Linked DNA regions of Homo sapiens: region 1 is linked to region 2. Evidence: promoter capture Hi-C in human tissues and cell types (Jung and others, 2019). All regions are on one chromosome and are shown on one strand. The core of a region is centred on a gene start or on the middle of the fragment in contact, and the rest is flanking DNA. Distances in the headings are between cores, read along the strand shown. Region 1 has its middle 61 kb from the start of NGF. Region 2 holds the start of NGF (nerve growth factor).

Region 1 (4,682 bases), core at 737-3,236, 62 kb before region 2:
AAGTATCTGAAATTGTGCCCTTTGTGTATTACTCAACTCTTCTCAATAGTGAAAATTAAGAGGTTGATTTTTAAAAAGATTTGAGGTTAGGATGAGCTGCCTGATATCAAGGGTAAGGAGAGATGGAAGATCAGACATACCAATTCATTGACAATTAGTGTAATTTTAGAGGCACTTTATGTTTTCCCTAAATGTTTCTTACATGTCTACTGCCAAGTAATGATACCTGAGCTTCCACTGGTAGATTCTCATTTCTCTATCATGAGATTTCATCCTAAATGTAGCCATACCTGCAGGTGTCTTTTATACCTCAGTACAAATAAATTTATCAGATTCTTTCATCAGACTGCTGGCACCATGGCTAAAAATGGGGTTGCTGATAAGGTGAAAAGAGGGGAGGAAGAGTGAATTAGATAAAGGCTGGGGCATCCCAACTTATTCTACTTGGAATTTGCTAAAGACTAAAGACTAACCTTTATCACAGTTTAGAAGCACAGAAATTCACAAGTGAGAAATGGTGCCCAAGACCTGAGATCCTGAGATTCTATAGCGCTGCAAGACAGACAAGTTTGATGGTTTTGATAATCAAGACTAAGACACCCCACCCTTTTTCCCCTGCCTTGGCTTGTAGTCATATGAGAGTTTCTGGTCTAGAACCAATCAGATTGCAGTAAGAGCCTGATGACATGGCAGGATGTCACCTGCCCCTATGGCACTCTGACAAAACAGCTACAGTCACTGATCCTCAATAAGGATGTTGAGAGTCAGATTTCACCTTTTTCTAGAGAGGCTCTCACTCTGTTGCCCAGGCTGAGTGCAGTGGCATGATCACAGCTCACTGCAGCCTCAGCCTCTCAGGCTCAAGTGACCCTCCCAGCTTAGCCTCCTGAGTAGCTAGGACTACAGGTATGCACCACCATGACCAGCTAATATTTTATTTTTATTTTGTGTAGAGACAGGAGTCTCATTATGTTGCCCAGGCTGGTCTTGAATTCCTGGACGCAAACAATCCTCTCACCTTGGCCTCCCAAAGTTCTGGGATTGCAGGCATGAGCCACTATGCCAGGTTTCACTTTTTTTTTTTTAAGTTTTATTATAACTCTGTGTTCCTTGTTCTCAGTTCTTATCGTTGTGCAAAGCACCTCATTTCTCAGTCCGCATCCACAGGCCAGTGCAGGCCTGCTAGGGAAGGGGGTGAGTCAGTGTCTCAAAGCCCCAGTACAATCGCCAATGGAACCTTCCACTCCTACCTTGGCAGATATTTGTGCCTGCATGCATTCATTCAAAAGCACGGATTGAACACTATCTGTGTGTTCAATAAAGTCCAGGATGCTGGCCTTGCCCTGTGATAGATATCAGAACAGTATCAGACACAGTTGTAGGCTGTGCTTATAACTGTACCGGGAGACCAGTCATAAATCTATGAAAAGTTGAGTCACAGTAGGAGGTAATGGGGGACTAACTATCCAAAGAGAACTATAGCAGGTCAGAAAAAGAGATCCCTGTAGGCTGGAGGGGTTAAGCTCCTTGCAGTAGGGATCAAGGTTTACCACATAGTGGATACTTAATAAATATTTGTTGAATAAGTGAGTGGATGGATTGATAGATGGAAGGATGATTAAATGATAAACAGATGGTTATTATTAAATGTTCCATGGAAGAGGTGGTTTTGAAAGTTCATTAGGCTTTTGATATTATAGATGATGTCCTAGTTCATTTGGGCTTCTATACCAAAATACCATAGACTGAGTAGCTTATAAACAACAGAAATTTATTGCTCACAGTTTTGGAGGCTGAGAAGTCCAAGATCAAGGCAGCAGCATATTCAATGTCTGGTGAGGGCCAATTTCCTTGTTCAGAGATGGCACCTTCTTGCTATGTCCTTACATAGTGGAAGGGGTTAGCTAGCTCTCTGGGGTCTCTTACAAGGTCACAAATCCCAATCATGAGGACTCCACCTTCATGACCTAATCAATCACTCTCCAAAGGCCCCACCTCCTAATACTATCACCTTGGGGGTTAGGATTTCAACACAGTAATTTTGGGGTAACACAAACATTCAGGCCACTGCAGAGGAGAAGAGGGAGGGCAGATCAGAAACAGTTCTTCTCCTCATGTTCCTCAGGACATTCAGCAGGACTGGGAAATCACCAAGATATAGCAAGCATTCACATACCTGAGGCCAACCCTAAGCCCTGAACAATGCCACAATTTTAACCTTGGTGGTAGAGACTCCCACTACTAGACAGGCTAGAATCCAAAAACAAGTGAGAGAAAGGAGAAGGGAAGCTTTTGGTTCTAAACACAACCTCAATGCCTATGAGCACAAGCTTCTTCCACCAGTGACTTGTTCATCCATGTAGCAGGCTGACAGAAAGCCCAGATCACCAGGACTGCCTGTATCCATGGTTAACAATAAACAAACCAGAGCCTACTTTTATCAGTCACAAGTTGGGCACAAAAGTTGGTGTGAAAATGGGAATTCAACAGGTCCTAATTTTCCCCATCCCTTTCTGGTGGGCCCTGCCAGCTTTGGGCTTCCAATCTGAACCCTGACTTTTCCCCAAGCTGATCCACTTGATCCATAACCACAAGCTCTTAATACCAAGTACTTAATACTTCTAAGCACAGCAACAGAATCAGACCTATTGTAAGACTCAGTAAGCTCATCCTGCCAACTTGCAGGCAGCAAGAGGTATTCAAGCTGAAGGCAGGGACGACGTTTGCTTTTATATTCCCAGCACTTAGCACAGTGCCTGACACAGAGTAGGTACCCAGCAAATACTTGTTGAATGAAGGAGGAAAGCAGCTCCAGTTCCATAATGCAGTGCAGGTCAGGCCTCTGCCAGTTTTCCCCTGCCCTAAACCCTAGTTTAGATAACTGGACTTTGACACTGCTATGATCTGAGAACCTACTATCAGGAGTGGAGTTCCTACTTTTGTTTCAATACCCAAGACTGAAATTTCCCGTAGGACCCAAATCTATTATCTTTTTCTTGGACAGCAAGTTGTTTGCATTTCTCAGATGTTGCTTTTCCCAGATTACCTTTGGCCTCTTTGTTCGCAGGCTCTCAAATACATACTCATTTTTCCCTCTGTCCCCAACTCTCCTCTGTATTGGTTTCTATTCATGCTCCAAAGCTTATCTTGACCATCACCTCCTCTTGGAAGCCTACCCAGGTGTGGATGTGTATAATGTATAATACGCCATCATATAATGTGTACATATCTGTACTCATTAAGTTGCACTGCAATCACTAATCCACTTATCTCTTCTCCATACTTGACTGTGAGCAAAGAGAGAAAAGGGATCACGTGTTCATCTTTGTATCCTCATCATGTACAATAGTGTCTAGCACACAGTGTTCCATAAAAGTTTTAAAAACGAGTGAGTGAATGAATGAATGAATGTCTTTACCCATCAGGATGGCCCAAGCTGACACTTGTTCTTGCTCTGACCTGGATGCCAAATGTTGCCTCTCACCCTGACTATTCCCTTGCCTTGGAGCTTGTAGGTCAAGTGCCTGAACTACTCCCTCTCCCTCCCACTTACCACCCTCCTGCCACAAGTGCTTTGCCGTATGTTGTGAATTATGTGGTACTGTGCGAGGGTAGAATGCCTTGTTTAGCATTTGCCACAGTAGGGTCCCATCAGATGCACATTTAACTTTTATAAATTCAACTATATGCCCTCACTGCCTGTGATTTCAGAATTTAATAATACACATTTCTATGCAATTTGGCTCCTAAATATATGCCTTCTATTTCATTTGGAACATGGAAACACTCATTTGTTCAAAGAGTAAGGGTAAAACCATTAGATTTATTTAAAGATGATAGACTTCGTTCTGTATTTTTGGACAAATTAAAGGATTTTTCTAGAATAATTTTTATCTATAAAATGTTTTTACTTTATGATCTGATTTTATTGTGTGCTTTAAAATTTTCATCTGTATAATTTAGTATATACTTCCTAAAGACAAGGATTCCTTATTAAACACAATCACAATACCATCATCACAAACACACCCAACATAATTCCTTAATATTATCAAATGTCCTTTAATGTTCTATACATGTTTCTTTTTATTTTTAAACTTTTTCTAAGTTGGAAGTTTGAAATGGGATCTAAATAAAGCCAACACTTTCAATTGATTAATATATCTCTTGAATTTCTTTTACTATATGTTTAAAAATGTTCCTTTTCCATTGCTTTTTTTTAAAAAAATTACACTTTGTTATTGTTGTAAAACCACATTGTTTAACTTACAGTTTCCCATAGTCTATTGCATCTTCATGGTTTTTGTTAACATGTTACTTTGTTCTCTGTGTATCCTTCAAATGGTAGTTAGATCTGGAAGCTTGATTAGATTAATATTTTTAAAAAATACTATATAGGAAGTGCTGTGTTTCCACCAGGAGGTACAAGATGTCTGGTTGTCTCCTGTTTTTGACCATTGATGATTGTTGCCTAGATGCATTATTTCATTAAGTTTTGCAAATTGGTGAAATTCTAATTCCATCATTTCTTCTTCAAGTATTAACAGAAATACTTGTAAAAGGCAAACTTTTCCTCATCTATTATTTATTTACCTTAAGCTACAGTTTTTTTTAGGAATGGCAAAATTAATACTTGATTGTTTTCTTTTACTTCCCAGTTTTAAAAATATTAAGTAGGTCTT
Region 2 (4,363 bases), core at 1,077-3,576:
CTGAGCACCTACTATAGGCCAGGTCCTATGCTAGGACCTAGGGAAACTGTGATAAACATGGCCAGGGACTAATAATCAAGCCCCCACTAGAACATAAGCTCTCTGAGAGCCGGTACCACTGCCAGCACACAGTGCCTGGCATATGGTAGGCTCTCAATCAATAATCTTTGGAGTATTTTTGTGTTTGTTGTTTACATGTTCTTATTTACTCAAGATCCTTGAAGTCCAGGGACAGAAATAGAGGTAGTTAGGGGCAGAAAGGAGCTCTTATTAAATCAACATGTGCAAGAAGAATATGACCAACAATTTAGGGGGTGAGGATGGAGCATATAAGCAAACTTATAATCTGCTTACATCACTTAAAGTTTCCCCCTTACATACCACATGGAAAAGAACCACAAGTGTCCCAAATCCTTTTGTCCTTCTGAATGATGCCACAAGAACACATACAAATGCTCTGCATTCAACAACCAAATTCTCTGTTATTCTAAAAGTTTAATTTCATACCCAAATTCTCAGGCAGCTATTATGTAAGGCTTGGGGCTAGTGCTTTCCAAACAAGTTTATACATGACATGATTGATGGATGAATTCATCCTGTTATCTGGAAATTCTTTTGTTTAATTGACGATGATAAATTTCCTAATGGATCACCTCGACTATGATACTACTTTTGTAGAAAGGGCCATTCACAGTGTTCCCTGGCCTCTTGCCCTCACTTCCAAAGTGTGTTCATACACCAGCCTGTATCTGAACAAGTCAGAAGTGGACAAGCCTAAGGCTGGGAAACAACAAGGTCACACCAAAGCTAAGGCTGACTTCCAATTCCAGGGCTTTTTGCCTATTTCATCCTTCTCAGAGCATGTGTAAATGGAATGAACTTTCTTATGGGAGCAAACGTGAAAATAGAAAGAAGTAAGACCTCAAGACTAATCTGAATCAAGGGAGTTGGAAATGCCTAGTCAGGGCTTCATCTTGCTCAAGTGCCATCCATTAAGGGTAAATGACCACCCCCAGACTTAGGACAGGAATCATCTGCTTCACTAAATCCCAGTTCCCTGGAGGGTGCCCTTCTGCTAAGTTGCACTGGCTGGTGTTACCAGCAATAGGGAGATTCTGTGCCCCACCTTCCCTCCCTGTTACTCTCCTCACACCTACTTCTCCTCTGTGGCATCCATACAGGGTAGGGGTCCAACCCACCTTTGCTATAGGAAGAAGCGAAGGCACAGACAAGCTCAACACGGGAGGGAGTGGGGCTGTAAATTTCCAAAGAGCTACGAATCCCCTGGAATGCTACAATTAATGATGCACATTTGGTGACAAATTTGACTTCAGGGGTATTTCTCCCTTGCTCATTTTATGCTGGGGTGGGAACAGCCCTGGCAGAGGGGCAGGGGAAAGTCAGGCAAGCTCTCCTGTCAGGCTGAATCGAGGGAACTCAAGAAATTTTGAAGGGTCAGGAAGAATTTGTGTGGGGCCTGGAGTGTGGAGAGGGGGGCATGGGGGCCTAGGGTTTGCTGGCTATATCAGTCTGGGGTCACAGACCCCTTGCAAAACTGATGAAAGCTGCGGACCTTCAGCTCAGAAAAGAATATTAGCATTGCACACAGTCGCGCAAATCAGCCTACAGTTTCAGAGGGGCCAAGGACTCCGGGAAGTTCCTGGAACCCAGGGCCTTAAGTTAAGGTCCCGGCTCTAGCTCCTGACTCCTGAAGTCCTCTGCCCCTTGTCCCCATGCTGGACTTGCCGGGCCTGGGGGCCTTCTAGCTGGTTCTGCAGCCGCCTTCCCTTGTCAGAGGAGCTTGGGCACCTGCCCCTCGCGGAGCTCCCCCTGGGTGCTCACCTATCCTGGGATAAGGAAAGGCGCCCCGAAGAAAAGGAGCAGCCGATGCCTGGGGCACCGAGGGCGACGCCGGGCAGACCAGGGAGGCACTGGCGAAGGGCAACGCGCGGGGGCAGGGCGGAGAGGTGAGGGAAGCTGCGAGCAACTCCGCCCAGCCCCAGCCAGTCGGCCCAACGACCCCTGCCGGTGCCCCAGAAACTCCCCCTCCCGGCTTTGCGCGCGCGGCCCCTCAGACCCCAGTGGGTTTCCCTTTGACCTCTGAAGGTTTAAAGTCCTTCTCTGGCTGGGTCTGGCCAGCCCTCCAGGAGCGATCCGTCTGTAGTCCCCAGGACCCCCTCCAGCCGGGCACCACAGCCCAGCCACAGCAGGTGCGGGGCTGGTGGTGGGGAGGGGAGGGATGGGGGCCAGGATTTGGAGCGTGTGACTCAGGAGTACGGGAGGAGGGGCTAAGAATTCAAGAAGCCTGTGTGAGAGCAGCTCGGCGCTCCGGCACAGCAGAGAGCGCTGGGAGCCGGAGGGGAGCGCAGCGGTGAGTCAGGCTGCCCCGAGCCGATCCCGAGAGGGGCGCAGCGCGGGCGCGGGCAGGGGTGGCTGGGCTTCGCGGGAGAGTTTGCAAGGATACCGGTCTGGCGAGCTCTCTGGTTACCCCCGAGGCTCCCGCAGGCCGAAGAGCAGCCCTGAGAAATGTCCCGAGTGGGTGTGGGGGCGCGGGACCCTCGCGGGAGGACGAGTCGGACCGAGGGAACAGCGTTAGTTCTGGTCGTGGAGTCCCTAGTCCCAGGATGGCCTGCAGTCCAGGGAGCAGCCCTGGCGCCTGCAGAAGCCCACGGCCATGCCAGGGTCTAGCTCGAGGGCTAGAAGTGGATAACGCGCAAGTGAGGGAGAGCGAATGGGCGCGGAGAGGGATGCGCCGGCAGCTGGCGCGCCAGGGCGGGAGGAGTGGCGGCCAGCACCGCGGGGGGAGCGCAGAGCGCGCTGGCTGAGGTGAGCGCCGAGTAGGGAAAGTGCTGCGCGGCCCCCAGGTAGGGGGAGGAGCGGAACGGGGCGCGCTAGACCTGGGGCAGTTCCCTCAGCGCGTCTCGGAAGGGCTGGGAGTCGTGACTGAGGGCCCCGGGGGTTAACGCAGGAAGTCTGCGAGCCAACGCCGGGGTCCGTCCGGCGTACCGGGGCCCTCCACGGAGCCGCGTTGGACAACCTCAGGTAGAGGTCGCCAAGGTTCAGCCCTGCCACTTGGGTCACACGCTTCATCTCCAGCTGTCTGCTGCCAGGTGTGGGAGAAGCGGGCGTGGAAGGTTAGGGCGGGGAGCGCCTTGAGTTCAGGCGAGGAGGATCTAGGGGAGGGAGAGAGGACTCAGGGGTCAGGGAGCTGCAACTTTGAGCCAGCAGAAACAAGCAGCTTAGCTCCCTCTAATTACAAACCTCCTTCTAAAAAAAAAAAAAAAAAAAAAAAAAAAAAAAAAAAAAACAAAAACAAAACAAAAAAAATTTCGAGATTCTTAAGGAAGGTGTTTCGTGCTTGAACTTTTTCTTCTCTTGTGATTTGAGAGATTAAAAAAGAGCCTGCTTGCTAGGCTGGTTTTTCCAAGTTGTTCCAGGTTGGAAGTTGTAACAGTTCGAAGGATAATTTATGAGTGTTTCATGCATTAAAGTGTATTACAGCAAAGCCTTTTGGGTGCTGTGGGTATTAAGGAAAACTTAGTGCACGTTCCCAGCTGGAAACCAAAATAGTGCTCTCCTGGGTGCCTCTGCCCCATCTGTCATCCAAGGCCAATGGAAATCCTGTAGAAAAGTCACTTGATTAATTGTTCTGGCTCCATCCTCTGGGCACACCCACTGCCAGTGCCAGTCCCCTCCTCCCCAATCCATGCACAGCCAGCTGCACTCTGCAAATGCAGAAATGACAGTGGAGACCCCATCAGTAACTTCTCTCCAGGGTCCTCAAACTCTTGAAGCCGTCAGTTAAGTCTGCTGGAAGGGAATCTTTCCCCTTCTCGAGGCAGTGCAGAAGGGCAGCAGCCATTGGCCCCTGCCAGCCCTTCTTATCCTGTGTTTACAGTTTCCTCCTGAATGTCTGAAACTTTCTCCCTCTGCAGAGTCACAGAAGAAAGAAGAAAGGCTGTATCAAACCTGATGGGTCTCTTTTGTTGAATAAGTCATACGTCAACCTGAGCAACCCAAATGTCAATTCATGATGGGCAGTGTTTCCAGAGGGTCAGAGGAGACAGGCGGGTCTGGGGGCTGAGACTGGCCTAGCTGGAATTGACTCACACAGAAAGTGAACATTCCTCTTGTTGAAGGGGGATAGGGTTAATGCCACATGTTGCCAAACTCCTACCCCACTCTTTCCCCAACATCTTTATGCAGGTGAAGGGAAAAAGGAAGCACCAAAAATGGGAAGCCAAGATCACTGGGGCATGAGAACACTAATTTGACAGAAGTATAGGAGCACCTCAGAGGATTTTAGAACCAGCTGCTGGCACCACTGCATTTCCAACAGCAGCCCAGGCCCACCAGAGAAATG

Evidence for each region. Contacts are between HindIII fragments. The study calls those that stand out against the background at their distance.
Region 1: a fragment that was not itself captured here is called in contact with the fragment with the promoter of NGF in region 2 in 1 of the 25 tissues and cell types used here (aorta).

What each region holds. Positions count from the first base shown.
Region 1 is chr1:115,397,133-115,401,814 of GRCh38, reverse strand. No RefSeq gene overlaps it. Among named protein-coding and RNA genes, the nearest start is that of NGF, 61 kb to the right of the region's middle. The HindIII fragment of the contact is 3,531 bases long and covers 221-3,751 here.
Region 2 is chr1:115,336,212-115,340,574 of GRCh38, reverse strand. It overlaps NGF (nerve growth factor), which reads left to right and starts at 2,326. Exons shown (of 3, transcript NM_002506.3): 1 at 2,326-2,371. The region is part of intron 1 of NGF-AS1 (NGF antisense RNA 1); the gene reads right to left. The HindIII fragment of the contact is 13,066 bases long and covers 1-4,363 here.